2 separate regions of the Homo sapiens genome follow, and region 2 is linked to region 1. The links are contacts of gene promoters, found by promoter capture Hi-C in human tissues and cell types (Jung and others, 2019). All regions are on one chromosome and are shown on one strand. Each heading gives the region's core, a stretch centred on a gene start or on the middle of the fragment in contact. The rest is flanking DNA. Distances are from core to core; before and after follow the strand shown. Region 1 holds the start of FAM209B (family with sequence similarity 209 member B). Region 2 has its middle 140 kb from the start of BMP7-AS1.

What was found. The method cuts DNA at HindIII sites, captures the fragments that hold promoters and counts their contacts. A contact is called where the count stands out against the background at its distance.
Region 2: a contact is called between a fragment that was not itself captured here and the fragment with the promoter of FAM209B in region 1, in 1 of the 25 tissues and cell types used here (lymphoblastoid cells).

Annotation. Positions count from the first base shown.
Region 1 is chr20:56,529,281-56,536,614 of GRCh38, forward strand. It overlaps FAM209B (family with sequence similarity 209 member B), which reads left to right and starts at 3,966. Exons shown (of 2, transcript NM_001013646.4): 1 at 3,966-4,310; 2 at 6,892-7,240. The coding sequence starts at 4,062. The coding sequence ends at 7,158. It also overlaps a transcript of FAM209A not described here. The HindIII fragment of the contact is 6,468 bases long and covers 1-4,529 here.
Region 2 is chr20:57,067,990-57,075,411 of GRCh38, forward strand. No RefSeq gene overlaps it. Among named protein-coding and RNA genes, the nearest start is that of BMP7-AS1, 140 kb to the right of the region's middle. RefSeq lists an enhancer at 3,104-3,667. The HindIII fragment of the contact is 6,302 bases long and covers 1,362-7,422 here.

The DNA.
Region 1 (7,334 bases), core at 2,716-5,215:
CCAAGGTAGGCGGATCACCTGAGGTCAGGAGTTCAAGACCACCCTGGCCAACAAGGTGAAACCCTGTCTCTACTAAAAATACAAAAATTAGCGAAGCATGGTGGTGGGTGCCTGTAATCCCAGCTACTTGGGAGGCTGAGGCAGGAGAATTGCTTGAACCCTGGAGGCGGAGGCTGCAGTGAGCTGAGATTGTGCCATTGCACTCCAGTGGGTGACAGAGTGAGACTCCATCTCAAAAATAATAATAATTAAAAAATAAAAATACAGGCCTGGCACAATGGCTCAGTCCTATAATCCCAGCATTTTGGGAGGCCGAGACAGGTGAATCATCTGAGGTCAGGAATTTGAGACCAGCCTGGCCAACATGGTGAAACCTCATCTCTACTAAAAGTACAAAAATTAGTTGGGTGTGTTGGCGTGTGCCTGTAATCCCAGCTACTCAGGAGGCTGAGGCAGGAGAATCTCTTGAACCCAGGAGGTGGAGGTTGCAGTGAGCCGAGATCACGCCATTGCACTCCAGCCTGGGCAACAGAGACTCCATCTCAAAAAAAGAATAAATAAATAAACAAATAATAAATACAAATACGAAAATTAGGCAGGCGTGATGGCATGCACCTGTAGTCCCAGCTACTCAGGAGGCTGAGGAGTGAGAATCACTTGAACCTGGGAGGCAGAGCTTGCAGTGAGCTGACATAGTGCCCCTGCACTCCAGCCTGGGCGACACAGCAAGACTCTGTCTCAAAACAACAACGACAACAAAAATCCACTCAACCACCCACCCACCCACACACCCATCCATCCAACCATCCACCCATCCATCCATCCATTCATCCATCCACCCACCCACTAACCCATCCATCCATCTACCCACCCACCCATCCACCCTCCCACCCACTCATCCATCCATTCAACAACATACTGAGTATCTACTGTATGCCATTTTGGCAAGGAGCAGGAATGGAGGACAAAGTCATAGGCAGGAAAAGGATTCTGGAAAAGTGGTCCAGGCAGATGTCAGGACAAAGGGAAGAGTTTGCTCAAGTTTGTCATGTGGAGGAGCAGAGAGGACGCTGGCAGGGCAGGTGGGAATGGAGGAAGTTGGGTTTGCTGGGTTGATAAGGGCCAGATCAGACATCATTTTACAGAAGGATTCATTGAACAACTATGGTATGTACCACATGTGTTCTGTTCTTTTTCCCCTAGACTGCTCAGGAGAATTTATTCATTTTTTTTTAGAGACAGAGTCTTGCTCTGTTGCCCAGGTTATAGTGCAATGGCATCATCTGAGCTCATTGCAGCCGCAACTCCTGGGCTCAAGCGATTCTCCTGCCTCAGCCTCCCAAGTAGCTAAGATTACAGGCATGCACCACCACACTCAGCTAATTTTTTTTTTTTTTTTTGTATTTTTAGTGGCGACAGTGTTTCACCATGTTGGTCAGGCTGGTCTCGAACTCCTGACCTCAGATGATCTGCTCACATTGGCTTCCCAAAGTGCTGGGATTACAGGCATGAGCCACTGCCCCTGGCCATAGCTTGTAGAACTTCTTTGTCACTCCACAGAGCTCAGTACAATTTAAGGCACAGCGAGGGTGCCCAGCTGACTCTTGATTATTTCCTATGCAGCATAAAGTTCTGCTCCTCGGGAGTAAATCTGCGAATCAGAGCCTTCCTCAGGAAGATAGCTCTACAGATGACCCAGGGGAACAAGTACAAGCCGTGCATTCCAGCACCCAGGATTTCTTGTTTCATGTCATTTTAAAGAACTCATGGTTTCAGGTATACTGTGGAGTCCTAGGTTCATTCCCAGCCTTGGCCTCAGTTGTCAAGCTAGCTGTTCCTTCTCACTTGGGGGATTCAGCCCCTTCCCATTTTACCCACCAACTCCTAATCATCTCCCCTGCTCTACTCAACCATCTTTTTCTGGACACTCTTCCTGCATAACCTAGTATAGAGCAGTCCCCTTGTGCTCGTCTCTAAAGCTTCCTGTTCTTATCACAATTGTTTTTTCTTCTTTCTTTGTTTTTTTTTTTTTTTTGAGATGGAGTTTCGCTCTTGTTGCCCAGGCTGGAGTGCAATGGCACAATCTCAGCTCACCGCAACCTCTGCCTCCCAGGTTCAAGCAATTCTCCTGCCTCAGCCTCCCGAGTAGCTGGGATTACAGGCATGCACCACCATGCCCAGCTAATTTTTTTGTATTTTTAGTAGAGATGGGGTTTCTCCATGTTGGCTTGGCTGGTCTCAAACTCTCGACCTTAGGTGATCCACCCACCTCACCCTCCCAAGGTGCTGGGATTACAGGCATGAGCCACCGTGCCCGGCCTCTTACCACAATTTTAATCGAACTATACTCTTTTTTCTTTTCTGAAACACAGTCTCACTCTGTCACCCAGGCTGGAGTAGAGTGTCTTGATCTCAGCTCACTGCAACCTCTGCCTCCAAGGTTCAAATGATTCTCCTGCCTCAGCCTCCCAAGTAGCTGAGATTGCAGGCGTGCATTGCCACACCTGGCTAATTTTTGTATTTTTAGTAGAGATGGGGTCTCGCTATGTTAGCCAGATTGGTCTGGAACTCCTCCTGACCTCAGGTGATCTGCCCACCCTGGCCTCCCAAAGTGCTGGGATTACAGGTGTGAGCCCCTGCCCCTGTGCCTGGCCCAATGTATACTCTTTTTTTCTTTTCTTTTCTTTTCTTTTCTTTTTTTTTTTTTTTTTTGAGACTGAGCCCTGCTCTGTTGCCCAGACTGGAGTGCAGTGGCGCCATCTAAGCTCACTGTAACCTCTACTTCCTGGGTTCAAGTGATTCTCCCGTCTCAGCCTCCCAAGTAGCTGGGATTACAGGCACATGCCACCATGCCTGGCTAATTTGTGTATTTTTAGTAGAGATAGGGTTTCACCATGTTGGCCAGGCTGGTCTCAAACTTCTGACCTTGGGTGATCTGCCTACCTTGGCCTCCCAAAGTGCTGGGATTACAAGTGTGAGCCACCAGGCCTGGCTCCAAAGTATACTCTTAACCCAAGGCAGGCACACACTGCTGCTGTCAATGATGGTATGTGGTAATAGGGAGTGGTGGGGACTGTGGAGGGAATATGGCCACAGGATGGATGATTTCACTTGGCTCTAGCAGAAGACTGGTTCTATGACAGTGTGGGCCCAGTGCTTCCAGAACTCTTCATATTTTCTTTTCTTTCTTTTTCTTTTTCTTTTTTTTTTTTTTTTTTTTTTGAGACAGAGTCTTGCTCTGTTGCCAGGCTGGAGTGCAGTGGCGTGATCTCGGCTCATCACAACCTCTGCCTCCTGGGTTCAAGTGATTCTCCTGTCTCAGCCTCCCAAGTAGCTGAGACTACAGGCGTGTGCCACCACATCCAGCTAATTTTTGTATTTTTAGTAAAGACGGGGTTTCACCACGTTGGACAGGATGGTCTCGATCTCTTGACCTCGTAATCTGCCCGCCTCAGCCTCCCAAAGTGCTGGGATTACAGGCGTGAGCTGCCGCGCCCGGCCACGCTCTCATATTTTCAAAGGAAGCCGGAAACCTGGACTTTTAAAGTGAAATACCCACCCCCCACAACATTTAAGTACTGACTAATAATTTTTAGAAACAACATAGGCCAAACAAAACACATAGGTGGCTCCGAGTTTGTAGGTAGCCTGTGGTTTAATATCTTTCTCTCCCATTTAACTCAGCTCCACGGGGCACATGGCATCTCCCTCTGCTCATCATAGTGTTTGGATCAAACAAATGAAAAACAGAAACATGACGGCCTCTACCAGCAAAAGCTCGAGGGTTGGAAAGAGTCCCCTGGCAGGGAATTGGCACCCCGTCGTGCCTATCCTCTCTCTCTGACTGCCTGCTGGAAATGCCCCCATCTCCCTTTGAGTCCTCCTCCCGGGCGACTCCTGTGACCTGTAACCTCTGTCCTGAAATCATCACAATGGCCAGGGTGGCCTCAGCTCAGGGCCTCTGTGACATCACCAAGGGCCTGGCACCAGGTGCCCAGTCTTCCAGTTGCGAGGGCAAGCAAACCCGTCATGAGCAACTCCCTTCCCCATCTCTGCTCACCATGTGGACGCTGAAATCGTCCCTGGTCCTGCTTCTGTGCCTCACCTGCAGCTATGCCTTTATGTTCTCTTCTCTGAGACAGAAAACTAGCGAACCCCAGGGGAAGGTGCCGTGTGGAGAGCACTTTCGGATTCGGCAGAACCTACCAGAGCACACCCAAGGCTGGCTTGGGAGCAAATGGCTCTGGCTTTTGTTTGCTGTTGTGCCGTTTGTGATACTGCAGTGTCAAAGAGACAGTGAGAAGAATAAGGTAAGGATGGCTCCATTTTTTTTACACCATATTGATTCAATCTCAGGAGTCTCAGGGAAACGGATGTTCTAGTGAGTCTAGGCGGCACCGTTGGGTATAATGAACCGACCTCATGGTCCTGGGCAAAGCTGGCAAATTCACTTCCTGATGTATCCTTAGTGAAGACAATAGTCCCCACATCCACAGATATTGGGACAAACAGTGGAAGATGACCTCTAGTTTCTTGGCTCAAAGTTCTTCTGGTTAGATGGATTTTTTCAAATGTAGGATAGATTCAAGAACTCAGCCGGGCGCAGTGGTTCATGCTGTAATCCCATCACTTTGGGAGGCCAGGGCAGGTGGATTGCCTGAGGTCGGGAGTTTGAGAACAGCCTGGCCAACACGGTGAAACCCCATCTCTACTAAAAATACAAAAATTAGCTGGGCATGGCGGCGTGTGTCTGTAATCCCAGCTACTCGGGAGGCTGAGGCAGAAGAATGGCTTGAACCCTGGAGGCAGAGGTTGTGGTGAGCTGAGATCACACTACTGCACTCCTGCATGGGCGACTGAGACTCTGTCTCAAAATAAAGAACTTATGGTGTGTTTTAGAAGGTCAAAATTATATTATTCACAGGGCCAAATTCACTGTTCCCTTGCTTTTTACATTTTTCCTAGTGCTTGACTTACTGAAAATTCCTGAGCTAAATGGAAATGATATCATCCCAACAAAATATGAAACTTCTGTAAGGAGATAAAGGTGTAGGCCGGGCACAGTGGCTCATGCCTGTAATCCCAGAACTTTGGGAGGCCGAGACGGGCAGATCACTTGAGGTCAGGAGATTGAGACCAGCCTGGCCAACATGGTGAAACCTCGTCTTTACTAAAAATACAGAAATTAGGCCAGGCGCGGTGGCTCACCCCTGTAATCCTAGCACTTTGGGAGGCTGAGGCGGGTGAATCACGAGGTCAGGAGTTCGAGACCAGCTGGGCAACATGGTGAAACCCTGTCTCTACTAAAAATACAAAACCTAGCTGGGCGTAGTGGCGGGCGCCTGTAATCCCAGCTACTCGGGAGGCTGAGGCAGGAGAATCACTTGAACCCTGGAGGCAGAGGTGGTAGTGAGCCGAGATGGAGCCACTGCACTCCAGCCCAGGTGACAGAGTGAGACTCTGTCTCAAAAAAAAAAAAAAAAAAAAAAAAAGCTGGGCCCAGTGGCTCATGCCTGTAATCCCAGCACTTTGGGAGGCCGAGGCGGACGGATCATCTGAGGTCAGGAAGTTGAGACCAGCCTGACCAACATGGAGAAAGCCCGTCTCTACTAAAAATACAAAATTAGGCGTAGTGGCGCATGCCTGTAATCCCAGCTACTCGGGAGGCTGAGGCAGGAGAATCGCTTGAACCCGGGAGGTGGAGGTTGCAGTGAGCCGAAACTGCGCCATTGCCCTCCAGCCTGGGCAACAAGAGCAAAACTCTGTCTCAAAAAAAAAAAAAAATACAGAAATTAGCCAGGTGTGGTGGCACACCCCTGTAATCCCAGCTACTCGGGAGACTGAGGCAGGAGAATCACTTGAACCTGGGAGGCAGAGGTTGCAGTGAGCTGAGATCGTGCCACTGCACGCCAGCCTGGGCGACAAAGTGAGACTCTGTCTCAAAAAAAAAAAAAATTAGCTGGTATGGTGGTGGGCACCTGTGGTCCCAGCTACTTGGGAGGCTGAGGCATAAGAGTTGCTTGAACCCCGGCCGGGGGTGGTGGCTCATGCCTGTAATCCCAGCAATTTGGGAAGCCGAGGCGGGTGGATCACCTGAGGTCAGGAGTTCGAGACCAGCCTGGCCAACATGATAAAACCCTGTCTCTACAAAAATACAAAAATTAGCCGGGCATGATGGCGGGTGCCTGTAATCCCAGCTACTCGGGAGGCTGAGGCAGGAGAATAGCTGGAACCTGGGAGGCAGAGGTTGCAGTGAACCGAGATCATGCCACTGCACTCCAGCCTGGGTGACAGGGCAAGATTCCGTCTCACAAAAAAAAAGAATTGCTTGAACCCAGGAAGTGGAGGTTGCGGTGAGCCAAGATCACACCAGCCTGGGTGACAGAGTGAAACTGTGTCTCAAAAAAACAAACAAAAAAAAGAGATGAAGGTGTAAAGTAGTAACAGCTGGGCCTCAAAGTGACCATAAACAATTCTTTCAAGTAGAAGGAGAAAGGGAAAGAAAGCGTATTCTCCCCTAGAAAGACCCAGCATTTCATGATCCTGTGCCCAAACTGATTAGAGGAAGGATTGGCAAACTTTTTCTGTAAAGGGCCAGAGAGTGAATATTTACAGCTTTGTGGGCAGTACGGTCTTCCTTGCAACTACTCAAATCTGCTGTTGTAACATGAAGCAGCCTTAAACAATATAGAAATGAGTGAGCATGACTGTGTGCCAATAAAACTTTATTTACAAAAACAGGTGGAGGGCCAAATTTGGCCATAGTCTGCCAGTGCCTGCACTCGAGCACTGCTAGAACCATCTTTTCTTAAATGAGCCCAACTGTCTTGGAACTGTGTCAAAACCAGCAAAGTCCATGATATTATTGACCTTGAATATCTTTCTTGACAGGAGCAGAGTCCTCCTGGCCTTCGAGGCTTCCCATTTCGCACTCCACTAAAGAAAAATCAAAATGCTTCTCTTTACAAAGACTGTGTATTCAATACCTTAAACGAACTTGAAGTGGAGCTTTTGAAATTTGTGTCCGAAGTGCAGAATCTTAAAGGTGCCATGGCAACAGGCAGTGGCAGTAACCTCAAGCTTCGAAGGTCAGAGATGCCTGCAGATCCATACCATGTCACAATCTGTAAAATATGGGGAGAAGAAAGCTCTAGCTGAATGGATTTGTGTGTCAGGAGAGAAAAAAGTTGAGTGTTGACAAACTGTATGCAAACTAATAAAACTATTCTGAAGAAAAGAACTTCCATGTTTGAGAGCTTGCTTCTTTTCTTTTTTTTCACTAGAAGAAAAAGTGAATGGGAGACCAGTAGCCATAGCAGTGATGGTTTTGTTTT
Region 2 (7,422 bases), core at 3,263-5,762, 540 kb after region 1:
TTGGCAGGATGAGGGGAGATGAGTGTGGGAGTGGCACACAAGTTCTTCACCTGTGGCAGCCTTTCTCATGTGACAGAGTAAAGATGAGGCATTTACCAACAACCCCTCCTTTGCTGGCCAAAGGGGCGTTAGTCCAGTTCAACCATCACTTTGTCTCCTGCCCTCTGGGGAGACTCACTCTCTATCAAACCCTTTGGGTTCTTGGACCTCCTTTCTGGGATGCCAGAAGGTCAAGAAAGCCTGGATTTGATGGAAGGACAGAGAAAGGCTTTAAAGAGACTGATTAAGACAATCTACAAAATAAAGAGCTGAGAGAGAAAAGAGTGGGCAGAAAAGGTAAAATTTTCCTGCAGGATGGGGGAGGGAAATGGCACTGGAGATGAGGAAAGAAGACACTTAGGGAACATAAGTGTCAGACAATGGGAGAATAAGGAAAAGGGGATCTGAAAAAAGTGGCAGGAAGTCAAGCATTGGGGAACTTTGAGTGATCTAGGATTCTTTCGTTGCAAGCAACAGCAATCAGTCCTGGCTGACTTTAGAAAAAGGGAATTCACTGGAAGCATCACAGAACTGAGGGCAGGCTGCAGATGTGGGACTGAGAATGAGTAGGAGCAAGGCAGGCTGCAGGCTATGAGGCAGGTAGCAGAAACAGTCTGATCAAGGTGCAGTTTCTGCGATGGAATGAAACACCAACAATGTCAGCCTCTTTGTCCCTTTGCTTGAGACTCAGGTTCCAAAGTGGGCTATCTGACTGACTTGGTGTGGTTCATGTGCCTACTTCTGTCTGTCTTGTGTGGAGGGGAGGGGTGCTGTAAGCCCAGTGCCCTATCTGTAAATGGAGGAGGGCAAGCCCTTGAATCAAAACTGTCATGGTTATGAAGGGGAAATGGGGCCAGGCAACCAAACATGATGAATTTCCATTACGCTCTTTATGTTCTTTTGAAAGTAGCAAATGGAGGTGCTTTCAAACATCGTTCTGGCTGCAGAACTGTGCATCTTGCACACATCACTTCTCCAAGGTCTTGGTCATTGACCCTCATGGGTCACAGCTTCCTTAAGGTTACTTTATTATTAGAAATACATAAACTGGAGAGTCTTGTGATAGACAGGTGAATAAAATGTCATAGGAATGCAGAAGAGGCAACCTGAGGAAGCCGGGGAAGGCTTCACTGAGGAGGTGACTTTTGGGCATGCTTATAGAAGTTTACAGGGCTAAGCAGCTGATAGGTAGTAGGTGGTAATAAATGCATCTCAATACTTATTTGAGATAAATCAATCTTAAGCAAAGCATGTAGGATTGAAGCCAATCCCCTTCTTCCTAGGAATCTGGGACAAGACTGTCTTGTAACTTGTAGCTTCACCTAACCCAGATACTTCTGGTTATAACTGCAGGCTTTTATGGACAATTTCACTTTTTCTTTTAAATAACTTTCATCAAGACCAATGACACTATTTGACATTAAGTCAAATCGTGCAGAGAAAAACTGGGGCAAAAGTCTTATTTTGTAATTTGTCAGAATGGGTTCTGAAAAGCTGTGCTTGCTCCCAAGGGTTTCCTGCAGGCGAAAAGGAAACTTCCCTAAGACAGAAGAGGGAATCCACCATTTGGCCCCGGATGGATGGTCTCAGCCACAGGACAGGAACAAGGACAGGAATCTGCTCACAGGTCCCCGCCCAGCTGCTCTCTGACCGGCCACAGTATTCAGGCCAAGACACTCAGCTGTGACTGCGAATGCTACTTGTCTGACCTAAGGATCTAAGGACTGTAGCTGCCTTGTTTGCATTTCTTACTCCAACGATAACTCAAAGAAAAGAAAATGAATCACCGTGGAAAATGAGGGGAGGGTGCAAAAGTAGTGCCGCAGAGCCTCAGAATCCTCCCACCTGCCCTCCACCTGCATCTCCACCAGCCCATTCTCACCCTTCCCCACATCGCAGGAGAGGAACCGCCCAGTTTCCGGGAAGACAGGGTCACTTGGTTTAGCTGGAGTGGTCCCACTCTTCCTAAGTACCTGGTCTTCACAGTAGCTGCTGTGGCAGGGAAGGACGCAATCCCAGGACTAGACTCTTATCTTCTCCTTTTGCCCAGGCCCCACCAGCTTCCACACTGAACAACACGGGGCCTGTGGATCCATCCTCATCCCCTCCCTAAGCTACTGACCCACTCCCCTCCCCCTCCTGGCATTGATGGGCTGTCCTCAGGGAAGCCAGTGACCCTAGTCCAGGGCCTCAGACCAGGGTCAAGGGGCAGAATGTCTACACCAGGCCAGGGATCCCTGCAGACTGGTCTTCGGGAAGTGCACCCCCAGATGCAATCAGTTCACAGAGGAAAACCACATTTTGTTTAGTCTTTTCCTAGTCTAGAAGGCCTAGTATTTAATAAACCCTGGAGCCAGCCCTGAGGGGGACTGGCTTTTATGGGCTCCAGGCAGCTCTCTCAGCCTCTTCCCAGGTGGGGGGGCTTGGCCTGTTGGCAGCTGACTTGAGTTTTCTTCCCAGCCCCACCTCGCCCAATGCCCCCACCTTTTCCATGAGATGAAGAGAAACTTGGCCTCCAAGGGTCACTCTTCTCCCCAGGAATGTGTGGCCCAGCTTCTCCAGTTTAAAAGACTTTCCTCTGCTCCAGGGCTGACCCCAAACAGATGGGAACCTCTAGAGCTTGGTTGGCCAATGCCATGTTCAGCCCAGTCACAGCTGAGATCTTGTCACCTAGGTGAGTGCTTTACTGCTGGAGAAGTAGCAATCAAGAGAACAGTTCTTTTTAACATGGACATGAGAGATTTTAGGGACCAGTCCCCAGTGCTCAAATCATAGCAGGTCCCACCCAAGAACTTGGCTCATCCACAAACCAAGCTCCTGCCAAGCCCTGGCTTATGGAGATGGACCAGACATTCCTGGGGCATCATGGCAGGCGGCCACTGATGCTGTCTCAAATCCTGGGGTTCCATATTACGGAGAGAATCAGCTGCAAAAGGCAACAATTGTCTTTGAGTCACCCCTGCCCTTCCAAAAATCAGGCTTTCAAGAGTTGAAGGCGTGAAGCGTAATGCAGGGAATTTCTGACAGTGCAGAGGGTATCTGACAGGCTGGGATGTTCCAGCGATGACTGAACACGCAGATTGAATGGAACACTGATTACATTCTTGGTTAGCCGCCTATATAGCCCATACTGGGTCCTCATTACATGTGCCCTAACAACAAACATTATGTTTCATTAAAATATTACACACTTAGGAAAATACTTCTAAAAATGCAAAGAGGAGAATAAAAACTACCGCAAGTGCTATACTGAGACCCAGCGCTGTGGCAAGTTCCCCTGACCTGTCTGCAGGGATCATTACAAGCCGATACTGGCTGCCCAGCGGGACCTGATGAGACATCAGAGAGCTCACGTGACCTCCATTATCACTGTCACCGCCGTGCGTGCTGTTCACACAAACATCGGAGATGTAAGTGACACTTTACAACAATTCCTGAGCCTTCCATCATGTGGCTCAGAATGTCATGGCCCAGATGATGTCGGGGGGTATTAAAACAAATAAATGAACCATCGAACAAGTAAATAAATAAATACACAAAGGAAAGCGGGGAGAGAGAGGGAAGGAACCGGTTAGGGCACTCACACAGTGCAGAGGAGTCTGAAAAGGAATGCTGCCTGCTGGCGCCCTGGCTCTCTGTCTCTCTCCCTGTCTTTCTGTCTCTGTGTGTGTTTTTCCTCACTCTCTGTCTCTCTCGCCATCTAGCTGTCTCTCCTCTCTCGGCCCTTTCTCATCATAAACCCCCTTACATGTGATCTCCTTTAATCCTCACAACAGCCTGATGTAGTCACTGGCTTTCCTCCTATTTTACAGCTGAGAAAACTGGAGCTCTGAGAGATGGACTACCTTGCTCCAAGACACACAGGTGAATCCTAGTGGAGCTGGAGTCAGCCCCAGATAGCTCTATGCCCACCCTCCACCTCCCCCTCCAGCCTGTGTGTGCACGTATGTGCGGGTGTGTTGATGGGAATATACCCTAAGTCAGATTGCAACTTGCAATCTACAGCTCACGGACCAGAAACCTTAGCATTTCCTGGGAGCTCTGTAGAAATGCGGTGTCCCAGACCCCTCCCCAGACCTCCCAAGTCAGAAACTGCATTTTCACAGGATCCCTTGGGAACTCCTGGGCATGTGACAGGCTAAGAAACACCTCTCTACATCTCTCTACAGCCCTTCTCCCACTGCCAGGCAGGACTGAGTTACTGCTTTCCTGAGAGGAGGGAACTACATCACTCCCCAAAAGGAAACTGGAGACCACGCTAGGCGAGCACAGCTTTCCTGAATGCCAGCATACCAGGGCTGGAGGTGCAGGTTTGGTGCTGCCTCCGTCACCCTAAGCCCTCAACATCTCCATCCCCTGGTCTCTTGGTAAACAGCTAAGCCAAGATGGCCAGAGCTGGGAGGATGATTGGGCTGAGTCATGTCACTGTAGCCCACAGACAAGTCTGCAACCCATTAAAGACTTCTCTTCTCCATTAATTTCAGAGACAAAGAGACGTTTGAAGTTTAATGTCATTCTCTTGCTCAGCCTTCCTCAATGAGGCCCCCAGAAGGGTGAGTGAGGGGCTCTCGGAAGGAGTGGGGCTACTGCAGGGCTGGCTCCAGCCGCAGTGTGGGAGTACCCAGGTCTTTGCTTGGAACAAACACCTATTTGACAGACAGCAGTTGGGTCCTGGGTAGAACCATTGAGACCAGCTACCATTCCTGGTTCTGAAATTTAATAATGAAATAAATGTAATCACACATATTTAATTAAGCCATTTCTTAATAATCATTATCATAGCATGGCACACTCCCCACACGCCTGGCATAGCAAGGCACTATCATACGCATAGAAGCATAGACCTTTGCTGAGAGCGTCACTCCGTACCAACCCCAGACTCAGTAGCGGTGAGAACTTGCCCAAGTCAAAAGCTTCCCTGCGGCTCATTTCCTCCTCTGTAGAACGGGGGACTGAAAACAAGGAACAGGCATCGGGACAGCGGATCATGAAACTGGTGCCCCATGCAGTGGGTACTCTAAAATACGAAGGAGCAGGTTTCGGGTGCAGCAGCAGCAAGGATAGAGCTGAAACACAGATGCCTAAGGGAAGGACGCCAGACCTGGAAGAGGACAAACGGGGTGATCTTGCTTACATAAAGCTCGAAAACAGGCCAGAAGGCCAGAACCAATCTGCAGCCAGAAAGCAGCACCACGGCCACCCAGGGCAGAAGGAGGTGGGGTCTTCCTGGGGTGAGGGGGGCCGTGTTCCACGTCTTGTTCTGAGTGTGGAAGGGTGTACATGTTTGCCACAATGTATCAAATGCCACCCTTAAACTCTGTGCATGTTATTGTATATAATACTTCAATAACATTATTTTAAAAGTGTTGACCAATAGTTCAAATACAGTTTGTTGCCAAGACAAGTTTTTAAAAAACCATGAAATCTGAGTATAATACGATTTTAAAACAGAATTATACATACTGTTTGTAGCCAACACTTTTTTTAAAAAACATGTAATCTGAGCATAATAAGATTTTAAAGCAGAATTACACAGCGTTTTACATAAGTTAACATATTTATGGCACTTGGCACAGTGCCCGGCACACAGGAGGAAAATGCTGGAAACTGTCATTTCATCATCCGGATCACCTTGGGTTGGTGCCCTTATACCTGTTTCACAGATGAAGAAACTGAGGCACGGATAGGGTAACTTACATTAGTTTCCCAGGGCTGCCGTAACAAATTGCGGTTGTGGTTTAAAACAACAGAAACTTGTTCTCTCGCATTTTTGGAGGCTAGAAGCCCCAAATCAAGGTGCCCGCAGGCCAGGCTCTTCCACAGGCTCTAGAGGAGGACGCTTTCTGGCCGCTTCCAGCTTCCAGTGGCTGCTGGTCATCCTTGGTGTTCCTTGGCTTTTGGACATATCCTTCCAACCTCTGTGTCCTGTGTCACGTGGCCTTCTTCCCTCTGTGTGTCTGTGTCCTTTCTTTTAAGGACACCAGTCACTGGATTTAGCACTTACTCGATCCAGTATGACCCTATACTAACTAGTTACATCTGCAAAGACCCCATTTCCCAATAAGGTCCCATTCACAGGGATCAGGACTTGAGGATGTCTTTTCGGGGGACACGATCCAACCCAAGCACTTACCCAAGACAGCACAGAGATTAAATGGGAGGATGGAGATCCGAGGAGATCCAAGCCCAGCTCTGCCTGATTCCGGAGCTCCCCTGTGGTCCAGGACCCTTTACCTTGCTGTGCTCACCTGGCTGAGAGGCCTCTGCAACTGGCCAGGCCCTCAGGAACTGAATTCTGTCCCGGCCTCGGGTGCTCAGCCGAGCAGTGGAAACTGGGAGAGTAACCGAGGGCAACATGAGCATGCTTCAGTGTTTAGCGCGGATGGCTCCAGGGAGGTGCCAGGCGCTGTCTGGGAACGGGGCAGGGGTCAGGGCAGATGTCACCCAAAAGGACACTAGCTCTGAGGTGGAAGGACAAGGTGGGTTGTGTGGGGCCCAGAAGAGGGCATTCCACTTTGCATAAGCAAAGTCCTGAAGGGGACACTGGTGGCCTGGCCTGGTGGGTGCCGGTTAGGAGGGATCCAAAGCTGAATGGTGAGCAGGCAGCCTCCCGCCAGTGCATACACCCCTCCCTCCACAGCCTACGCTGAGGCGTTTGCTTTGAAATTGTTGCCAGTGAACGTGAGTGGCTGGAAGGTGGGTGTTGGCGTTGGGCGTTGGCATTGGGGATGCCTCGCTCCATCCTGGACATGTCAACATCTCTTCAAGACTCCCCTGCAACGTGGGGATGGTGATCTTCACTTAGCCAACCTCAGAGGGGATTTCAAGGCTCTGAGAGGGACTCTGGCAGCATCTAGGCTTAGAGAAGACAGGAATATGTAAACAGTGGCTATGCAGAAGAGACCTGGGGACGGGACCTTATTTGGAAACAGGGTCTTTGCAGATATAATCAAGGTAAGATGAAGTCATAGTGAAATAGGTTGGGCCCAAATCCAGTATGACTGGTGTCCTTGGAAGAAGAGACACAGAGACATAGACAGACACAGACATGCAGAGAAAACGTGATGTGATGATGGAAACTGAGATTGGTGTGACATGGCTGCAAGCCAAGGAATGCCAGTGATTGCCCAGAAGCCCAGGAGCGTGGAGAGAGGCTGGAACAGACTCTCCCTCAGAGCCTCCAAAAGGGACCAACTTTGACGGTTGCTCAGGATATACAGTCCCTAGTATATCCTGGGATGTTGGGATCACTGGATATACTAGGCAGGTGTCAGGGAGAGGCTTAGGCAGGAGATGGAAACTGAGAAATCTTCAGGACAGGAAGAGGCTGGATGAGCTCACGAGGGAGTGAGTAAATATGCATAGAACAAACAGAGATCCAAG